2 separate regions of the Homo sapiens genome follow, and region 1 is linked to region 2. Evidence: promoter capture Hi-C in 16 types of primary human blood cells and fetal thymus (Javierre and others, 2016). All regions are on one chromosome and are shown on one strand. Each heading gives the region's core, a stretch centred on a gene start or on the middle of the fragment in contact. The rest is flanking DNA. Distances are from core to core; before and after follow the strand shown.

The links. The method cuts DNA at HindIII sites, captures the fragments that hold promoters and counts their contacts. A CHiCAGO score of 5 or more calls a contact.
Region 1: a contact is called between a fragment that was not itself captured here and the fragment with the promoter of COMMD8 in region 2, in 1 of 17 cell types (total B cells). The highest score is 6.4, in total B cells.

The regions. Positions count from the first base shown.
Region 1 is chr4:48,031,321-48,035,681 of GRCh38, reverse strand. NIPAL1 (NIPA like domain containing 1) reads right to left here. Exons shown (of 6, transcript NM_207330.3): 4 at 2,599-2,689; 5 at 641-801; 6 at 1-120. Among named protein-coding and RNA genes, the nearest start is that of NIPAL1, 17 kb to the right of the region's middle. The HindIII fragment of the contact is 959 bases long and covers 1,472-2,430 here.
Region 2 is chr4:47,462,442-47,466,921 of GRCh38, reverse strand. COMMD8 (COMM domain containing 8) reads left to right here and starts at 3,220. Exons shown (of 5, transcript NM_017845.5): 1 at 3,220-3,336. The coding sequence starts at 3,271. LOC107986277 (a long non-coding RNA gene) reads right to left here and starts at 3,039. Exons shown (of 3, transcript XR_001741683.3): 1 at 2,971-3,039. RefSeq lists an enhancer at 1,532-1,581 and a silencer at 3,230-3,489. The HindIII fragment of the contact is 2,743 bases long and covers 854-3,596 here.

The DNA.
Region 1 (4,361 bases), core at 702-3,201, 570 kb before region 2:
CTCCAATCAAGGAACAGATTGAAATATAAACCAATATATTGGTCTGTCCTTTCTTGGGAGCCACAATCAAAATCAGCACCAAGGAGATCACAGTTATGATCACAGCAAAGGAAATAAACCCTGTTAGAAGGAGAAAAGAATTTGACTTTAGAAAATGCTCACAGGATTATACCTTTCTGAAATCTTGTTAGTCATGAGTTTAAGAGCATAGGTATTTTAGAAATAGAAGTGAGATCAAATTAAAAACAACATTCTATTGCATAGTTCTCAATATTTTACAAAGGATTTTCACAAACATATCATTTAAATCTCACCAATACCACTATGAGCTAGGGCGAATATTATCAGATTAACTTTTTATTTTCAGAGGAAGAGAGTGGCAAAGATTTGATTTTGAATATATGTCTTTTGCCTCTACCATCCCCACCTCTCCCTTTCATTGTGTAACAGGGGAAGCATGAACACAAAAATAAGTTCTGCCATCTTTTCAGGAGAAATAATAATCAAACCTCACTGTGTCTCACAACCCACAATGCGGCCCACAATGTAGAAAGCTTATTACAATATTATTACAGATACTATTTGGTGAGGAGAGAAAGTGGAGCAGAATTTGAGTGGTTCTTTAGGTTGAATCACAGACCTGGGTCTCTCAATTTCATTTCCATTTCATGCAAAGATGTGACTTCCTCTTCTTGTGGGGCATGGATAACCATCACAGTTGACCCCAATATACTTAATATGCAGCCTATTTTCCCATGAATGTTCAAGTGCTCGTTTAAAAAGTAGGAAGATAATATTGCACTGTTGGGAGAGAAAAAATTAAAAATCACTATAGCTCAATTACCTTTTGATCCCATGGCAGCTCAGAAGTCACACTGTGGTACATGCCACCATGTATCCCAATGAGCTGACTGGAATATGCTATATGACACTGAAACCCTAGATTGGTTTGAAACTCAGAACTGATGGGCAATCAAATATGCTTCACTGTTTTTATATCTAAAGAGCTATAATATTCTATATCCCATAATCTTCCAGTGATCTTACAAGAGGTTCTACTCAAGTCATTTTCAATTTACCCATCTTTTCCTGTAAAGCCAAACAAAATAGAAAATCTTTTATATCTTACTGGCATGATACATTTAGAATATGTATGCCCATGGATGTTTCCAAGAAAGATACATTCCTAAAGAAAAATTACTCTGCTCAGGGCTAATAATCAGCTAGTTCACACCACTACAATCAAACGGACCAGGGGTATCCAATCTTTTGGCTTCCCTAGGCCACACTGGAAGAATTGTCTTGGGCAACACATAATATACAGTAACAGTAATGGTAGCTAATGAGCTAAAGAAAAAAAAATCACAAAAAAAACTCATAATATTTTAAGACAGTTTACAAATTTATGTTGGGCCACATTCCAAGCCGTCCTGGGCCACATGCAGCCCATGGGCCATGGGTTGGAGAAGCTTGATACAGACTTTCAAAATATCAAAATACTTCCTTACCACCTGTTACTGCTCTGATACTTAGACCTATCCAGTACTGCTAATGCTTCAGTTGCTGTGGTTTCTGCAAGCCAGCCTCCTTCCTCTAATGCTCTGGCATCCCCATGAAGGCAATTAAGTACCCATCTGTCCTCAAGATTATGATAAATTACCAGGTACTTTCCTAGAGTTGCCCTCATGTGGCCACCTTTAGGACTGCAGCCTTAGTGAAGATACTACTATTACTACTACTACTACTAGCTATTCATTGCATAGACAAGTGTTTGAAGTGCTTTATGTGTATTAACTCACTTAATTTTCATAACAATCCTATACAGAAGCTAAAAAGAATTTAGTAGGCTCAATCATAGGTTTTATACTAGAGGTTGGTAATGAATAGAAAACAAAAAGACAAGAAAAGAACAGACAAAAATGTATATGCTTATCAAACACATTCATTTGGGATCATAATAAACTCAGAAAAATTAGATCCACATTCCATGAAATAGGAAAATTATTCCTGTTTCCACTATCAAAACTACAGGGTCTCCAAACAGAAGTATCCAGCAAACAATGCAAGAATTGTAGTGAGAGTTAAAATTTAACCAAAACACCATGCTTGTAAAAGTCCTCTGATAACTATGGTCATTAACCACTATGATGAGGAAAATAATTGACAGGACTCTGGCAATTTGTTCTGATGAGAGATTTAAAAAATCTTCTATGCTTCATTGCAGTGTTACAAATGTAAAACACATTTATGTTAGTAGGAAATCAAACTCACTGTGTCTTAGGTTTTTAAAATAATAATGTGACAGTCTATTTCCTATTTCTACTGTTATTTTATAGTCTTCTCAAGTTATTTTTGTGATTTCAGGCAAGAAAAAGTATTGTTCTCACTTTATGAATGAGTAAACTGAGCCTGAGTGACTTGACCAAAGCTTCCCAGGAGCCTCAGAAATAATTTGGGTTCATCTAGACTTTTAGAGCCCAGGTTGGTCTAGATTTGTGTGTTTGCTTTTAGATATCCATAGCCATATGTTTATTATGGTTTAAGTTTATCTTGGTCTTAAAATACCTACAGAAGCCAAGTTCCCTGTTGCTCACATACCTTATGAGAACACTCAAAGCACCCAGAGGGGTGACCAAGGTGGCAGGTGCAAAAGCATAAGCAGCAAAATTTGCAGCCTCTCCTGCTCCCACTAGAAAGCAAGCAGAGATATTGATATAAAAAATGGGCTTACTTGTCAGAAGAGAAAAACAAATGACTCATGCAAAGCAGTGGACTTTTAACCCAAATACATGGGAAGATCTAGCTAAAAAGAATGATGTAACATGTTTTATAGCAGGTAGGAGATAATTAATATTAAGAGATGCAGACAAACTGTAATACCAGGTGATAAACTCAAAAGATGCAAAAAATGGTGACAGATGAGTACTCATTTTAAATGGCTTTCAATAGAAATTTTTAGCTACTTCAATATTGAAGACATATTTGGTGACTCTAATGAAATCTAGTAGAGGTAGCTTTGTAGTAAGCAGAGAATTATTTCACTTGCTCAAGAATACCTACAGCTTTGTAGGTTACCCACAGAAACCAAAACCAGCTTGGAAAATTAGAATGGTTAAATCTGGTGTGTAGGTAGGGAATAGCCAGAAATACCTGCCATAGGCCCATGAAGTTAGATATCCCTCTATTGTAAGTGATCTATAAGCAAGTAACAGTATCTCAGTAGCTTAACGAGATCCAGGCAGCTGTTTTAAAGTCATGATATGCTCCTGAATGTAATCTTTTTCTTATCTGAGGAACTCTAGACTTGCATGATATAGTGTGCTATAAATAACTTCTAGAGTGAGAGAAATCCCTTCAAGAGCTGGGCTCTGGTACTGGGGCCAAGTTATTCTCACAGAACACAGTGGGAAACTTGCCCACAGAATGTAGTATTTCATGCTGGCAACTACACCAGGCAAATGCTTATTGTAGAGAGAGAAAGGAACACCAGCATGATTTTTTTCTTTTTCCCTTTGTCTGGCTGCTACGCTACATCCCCCCAAATCTATAGGAGTATTCACCATTAGGAAAACATCATTAAACAAATCTAAATTTACAGAACAGAATAATTAAGACATTGCTATCATCGAAAGAATCACGGCAAGGCCGGGCATGGTGACTCATGACTGTAATCCCAGCACTTTGGGAGGCAGAGGGGAGAAGATCACTTGAGGTCAGGCGTTCGAGATCAGCCTGGCCAACATGGTGAAACCCTATCTCTACTAAAAATACAAAAACTAACCGGGTGTGGTGGCAAGCGTTTTTAATCCCAGCTACTCTGGAGGCTGAGGCAGGAGAATCGTTTGAATCTGGGAGGCGGAGGTTGCAGTGAACCGAGATCACGCCACTGCACTCCAGCCTGGACGACAAGAGCGAGACTCTGTCTAAAAAAAACCGTGGCAGTTTTCTTGGAATATTAAGGTTTCCTTGGATACTTTATATTATTTATATTTTTATCTTTATAGATAGCTTTCCAGGAAAACAACGACTTCATGATTAAAGTACTGTATATATATCACTTACTTAATCTCTAATGTATGCTTTTCTCTCTTCAATACTGACATAAACTTTTTTACACGGTGAAAACAAAATTGCAAATGTAGTCACATAATACTCTCCTCATATTTTCATTATAAAGTATGGGTAGAGGGTGGGGAGATGCAAGTAAGACAGAAAAAGAGAAAGATCCAAATACCTATCTGGAATCTTCCCAGACAGCCCTTGTCAATTTTTATTCAAATAAAGAAAATGGATGTAAAAGCACCCTAAAAACTGAAGGGGTGGCCGGGCGTGGTGGCTCACGCCTGTAATCACAGCACTTC
Region 2 (4,480 bases), core at 1,971-4,470:
TTGATTCTTTCCATTTGTATCTAGTTCCTGCTACCACCATCTATCACTAAGCCCCTGGAATTCTACAGTCTGGGGGTGGAAACTAGGCCATATTAACTCTAATCTCTATATTAGTTAGAATAAGTCTGGAGTAGCCTCCAAATTGGTTCCCCTTCTTTTGCTCTTGCACTCTAAGATCTGTTTTGCATAGCATAACTATTTTCCAGTTTCCATGGTATAAGCATTTAAAAATGTAAACCACATTATGTCAATTCACTGGTCCAAATCCATGCCCACATCTCTGGTATCTTCTTTACCAAATCCATGCCCACATCTCTGGCATCTTCAAGGCCTGTCCAGCCACACAGGCCTTGGGTAATTATGCTGAATAAGGCAGGCTTTCTCTTGCCTCAGAGCCTCTGCATTCTGCTCACAACTATTTTTCCCCAGATGTTGCCTTCATGTCTTTTCAGCCTTTATGCCTTAGTATAAATGCCATTTGTTAGCTAGGTGCTTTTTGACCAATCTAAGGTATATTTCTACCATCCCTTTCTATTACATGACTGTTTTATTTTCCTGAAGATACTTCTCAGTATATTTCATCATCTTAATTGTCTATTTGTTCATTATCTAAGCACTCCTTCTCCTCTGAAACCAGAAGGTAAATTATTGTCCACTGCTTGCATTCCCAGAGTCATTAGAGCATCTAATCAATGGTAGATGTTTAATCAACAATTGTTAAAGAATGAGTGAATGAGTGAATTTCCCAAAGCATGGCGCGCAAAACTCTTTCCTCCTTCCACCTCAAAACAAAAAATCTCAAGGAAACTAACTTCAGAAAAAGAGCACCAAATTATTTCACAAATAGCAAGCTTGAATTCCAGTTTAAGCTCAGCAAGGGCACACACTGTGGTTTACCTAAGATCTTTGTACACCTCTCCCAGCTGTTAGCAATGACCTACATCACCTATACAGCACTATATAGCTGGCTAGTTGGGTTTCAGATGCAGATCACATCTCTAAGGCAGTGACAGTTCACTAGGAGGGTAACTTTCTGGAACCCACTAGACTTTGGCTAGATAACAGTAGAGCAAAGAAGTCCACATAGAAGGGAATATAATACAATTTTCTATGTGCCAGGCCAGACTTCATTGCAAGAACTTCACATATATCAACTTACAACCACCCTGTAAATCCTAGGCTGTCATTATAACCAATTATACAATTTACAGGGTTGTTGTAAGGAATGAGAAACACAGAGAAGTGAAAATAGCTTGCCCAGAGTACATAGTCATTTGCAGAGCCAGGGTTTGAACTTATGAAGTTTAGCTCCAGAGTTCATGCATTTAAAGATTGCTATAGTACAAATAAGATTTGGGAGATGGAGACCAGAATATACCTCATAGAGATGGAACTACAAGAGACAGACATATGTTTTGAAAACCTCTTGGATTACACACATAAGAACATCCTCTTACTAATCAAAGGGCAAATATTAAGCGCTGTCTCTCTTGCAAGTTGTTAACTATTTTGGAAACCATATTTGTTGCAGGCTAAATTTTGTCCCATCCAAATTCAAGAGTAAAGATCAAATTCTTCTTAGTACTCAGTGTTGCTTGAAAGATGAGTTAGGACCTAATTCTCTGTCCTCTGACTAAACCTTGGGCCCTGTTAGGTGTGTCATTTTACCTTATTTAGTCATGTTACGTGGCCTTAGGTAAGCCATATCATTTCAGTTCCTCAGCAGGGGTAGTCAAGCATGCAAACTGAGATCACCGTTTCTGGCCTCAGACCAGTGATTTTGTAACTACTATCTATGTGACCTTACAAAATATATTACTTCAAGTTCATTTCCTCATCTGTAATACCCACTGTACAAGGCTGTAGCAGGAATTAGTAAGATAAAAATATATGAAGGGTTTGACATATAGTAGATGCTTGAAAGTACTTTTCTCCCAATTATTATAATACATAAAATTTAAGTTTTTTTCTCAAAATAGACCTTACCCATCATTAGATTTACAGAAAGACTCAGGTGAAGTAGTTTTCCAGACTTCTCATTTTAACTATTACTAGGGGAGCTCCTATTCACAAAGTATCTTAAGACAATTACATTTAAGATAGGGCAATGAGTGTTGTGCATCTATCTGCATTAAGAACTAGAAAGTGGTAAATAAGTGAGGGACAGCTAAAATATCATGAAAACTCACGGGAGAAAGAAATTGACTTCACCTTTTAGAGTTGAGGCACACAGAGAAAGGACGTAGGAGGTAAACCTAGAATGCTGCTAATGAGTAGTTTTTCTCTGCGTAGCCCATAGATTGAATACTTTCTCTTCTGCTTCACCATTTTGCACCACTTTTATTATTAAATTTATAAATTAGATTGTAATTCCTGTTTCTGGTCTACTAGTTATTATTATCCGCTTTTGCAGGACATGCTCATTTTACCACCACTGAATTCTTCAGCACCTGATTAAAGTAACAGCTGTAATAAGAAATAACAGAAAGGATATTTGGACTTTGAGCTTAGTCCAACATTAATAGCATGGCTCTTGAGTCTGATTGATTTTGTTTAACTTCAGACTGGGCCTCTTACTTAGGTCAGTGATTTTTAGCGTTGCCAGATAAAATACAGGACACCAGTTAAATTTGAATTTCAGATGGACAAATAATTTTCAGTATAAATATATCCCATACAATATTTAGGGGATACTTACAACAAAATATTATTGTTTATCTGAAATTTCACATTTAACTGGACGCTTGGTATTTTCATTTGCTAAATCTGACAACCTTAGTGACTTCTCTAATCATGTTTGCTTTCTGCAAATAGGGCTGAAAATAGTACCTTCTCCCTAGGATGATCTATATACAGAACGTTGCTCATGGCAAAACCTTAATTTACCTTGCAAATCAGGATACTTTAGTAGAGACTTCTGTTAAAACTCTGGGACAATGACCATGCCCAGGCACCCAAAAAGATGGTTACCTTTATTCGACGGTTTTCTAAAGAGCACAGAGAAAGTTCAATAGAACCCTAAACAAAGGTACAAACTGCGTTGAAAGATACGTAAATGTGCCTTTAATAGCACAAGGGTATCTTAGCCACATCACTGCAAACTGCAGTCTCCCTGGTTACGGGGAAAGCGGTAGTTCGGTCTCTGCGCAAGCGCACAGGGACTTCTTGGGTCCACGCCCCTCCCCGCCGGCGAGAGTCACGTGGGCGAGTCGTAGCTTTAGACAAGCGGCCAGCCTTGACACGTGACCCAAGCCCCAGCTTCGCGCAGGGATGGAGCCGGAAGAGGGGACGCCCTTGTGGCGGCTGCAGAAGCTGCCGGCCGAGCTGGGCCCGCAGGTGAGGGCGGGTACCGGGGGAAGCGGCGCGGGGCCTGGGATTCGCGACAGCCCGGCGTGCGGATCAGGCCGGGTGCGACCCGGACGCCTTCGCAAGCTCCCTAGGGAAGGGAGGAGGAAGGGGCGTGATTTCGGGTGGTTGGTCCCCGCCTTCCCTGGGGAGCCTAGGAGGACAGCTTGGGGCGCCACCCCCAGCCTAGAGGTGCAGCTCCAGGGGCTTTGCGCGCAGAAGCGCCCACACCAGACTGGGCTTTGAAAGCTTAAGTCGGTGTTTGCTGCCTCTTAGTATACGTTTTCTTAATTCATTCAACACATAACCTCCCAAAGGCTCCCTACCTACCGGACAGCAGGTACAGAGCTAGGTGCTGGAATACAATGTGACAAAGACCGAAGCGGACCCTGCCTCCCCCCTTGAGGGTGGTTGGTAGGAAGAGAAATAACTGGGCGAGTTACTTTAGTTAGGATCGTCCCAAGAGGTGATGTACCCATTGACTTCCAGTCTGTAAAAGAACCTGGCTTGTAAGAATCTGGAAAAAGCAACCACATTCATTTGTTCAGCCAGTTTTTCATTGAAGTCTACCATAGATTGAGCGCCCCGATGGGATGAGGTAAATGGTGAGTGAGACACAGCCTGTGCCCTGGTGGAGCATCTTTTTTATAAGTCTCAATTTTGGCTTCCTGTTTCCTCTATTCCATTTATACTGGAGAAAGTGTGGAGGAGACAGAAAGGAATGAACTTACCTCCTGCCAGGGTCAAGAAAAAAAAACACCTAATTCTTTTCTTTGTTTTTGCAAGTGAGGAACCTGAAATGTCAGCAGAAATTTTGGCTAACTTGCCCAGGATTGCCCATCCAGTTAGTGGCAGAGCTGGAACTTATGCTCAGATCTGTTGATTCTGAGTGTTTTATTGGCTTTTGGCTCTCCTTGTCTTCACTCTACCCATTTAGATAAGGCCCATAACCTTTATTACCATATATGTCGATGACTTCTAAATCTTTAGGTCCAGCCAAAAATTTCTTCCTCTATGGTTCAAGAATGCCAGGTAAAAAACAAAACAAAACCCCAAAAACCCCAAACCAAAATCTCTTCCCTGAGTGTCAGGCTTCTGCCACAGGTACCTCAAATTCAGTATGCCCTTGCCTCAG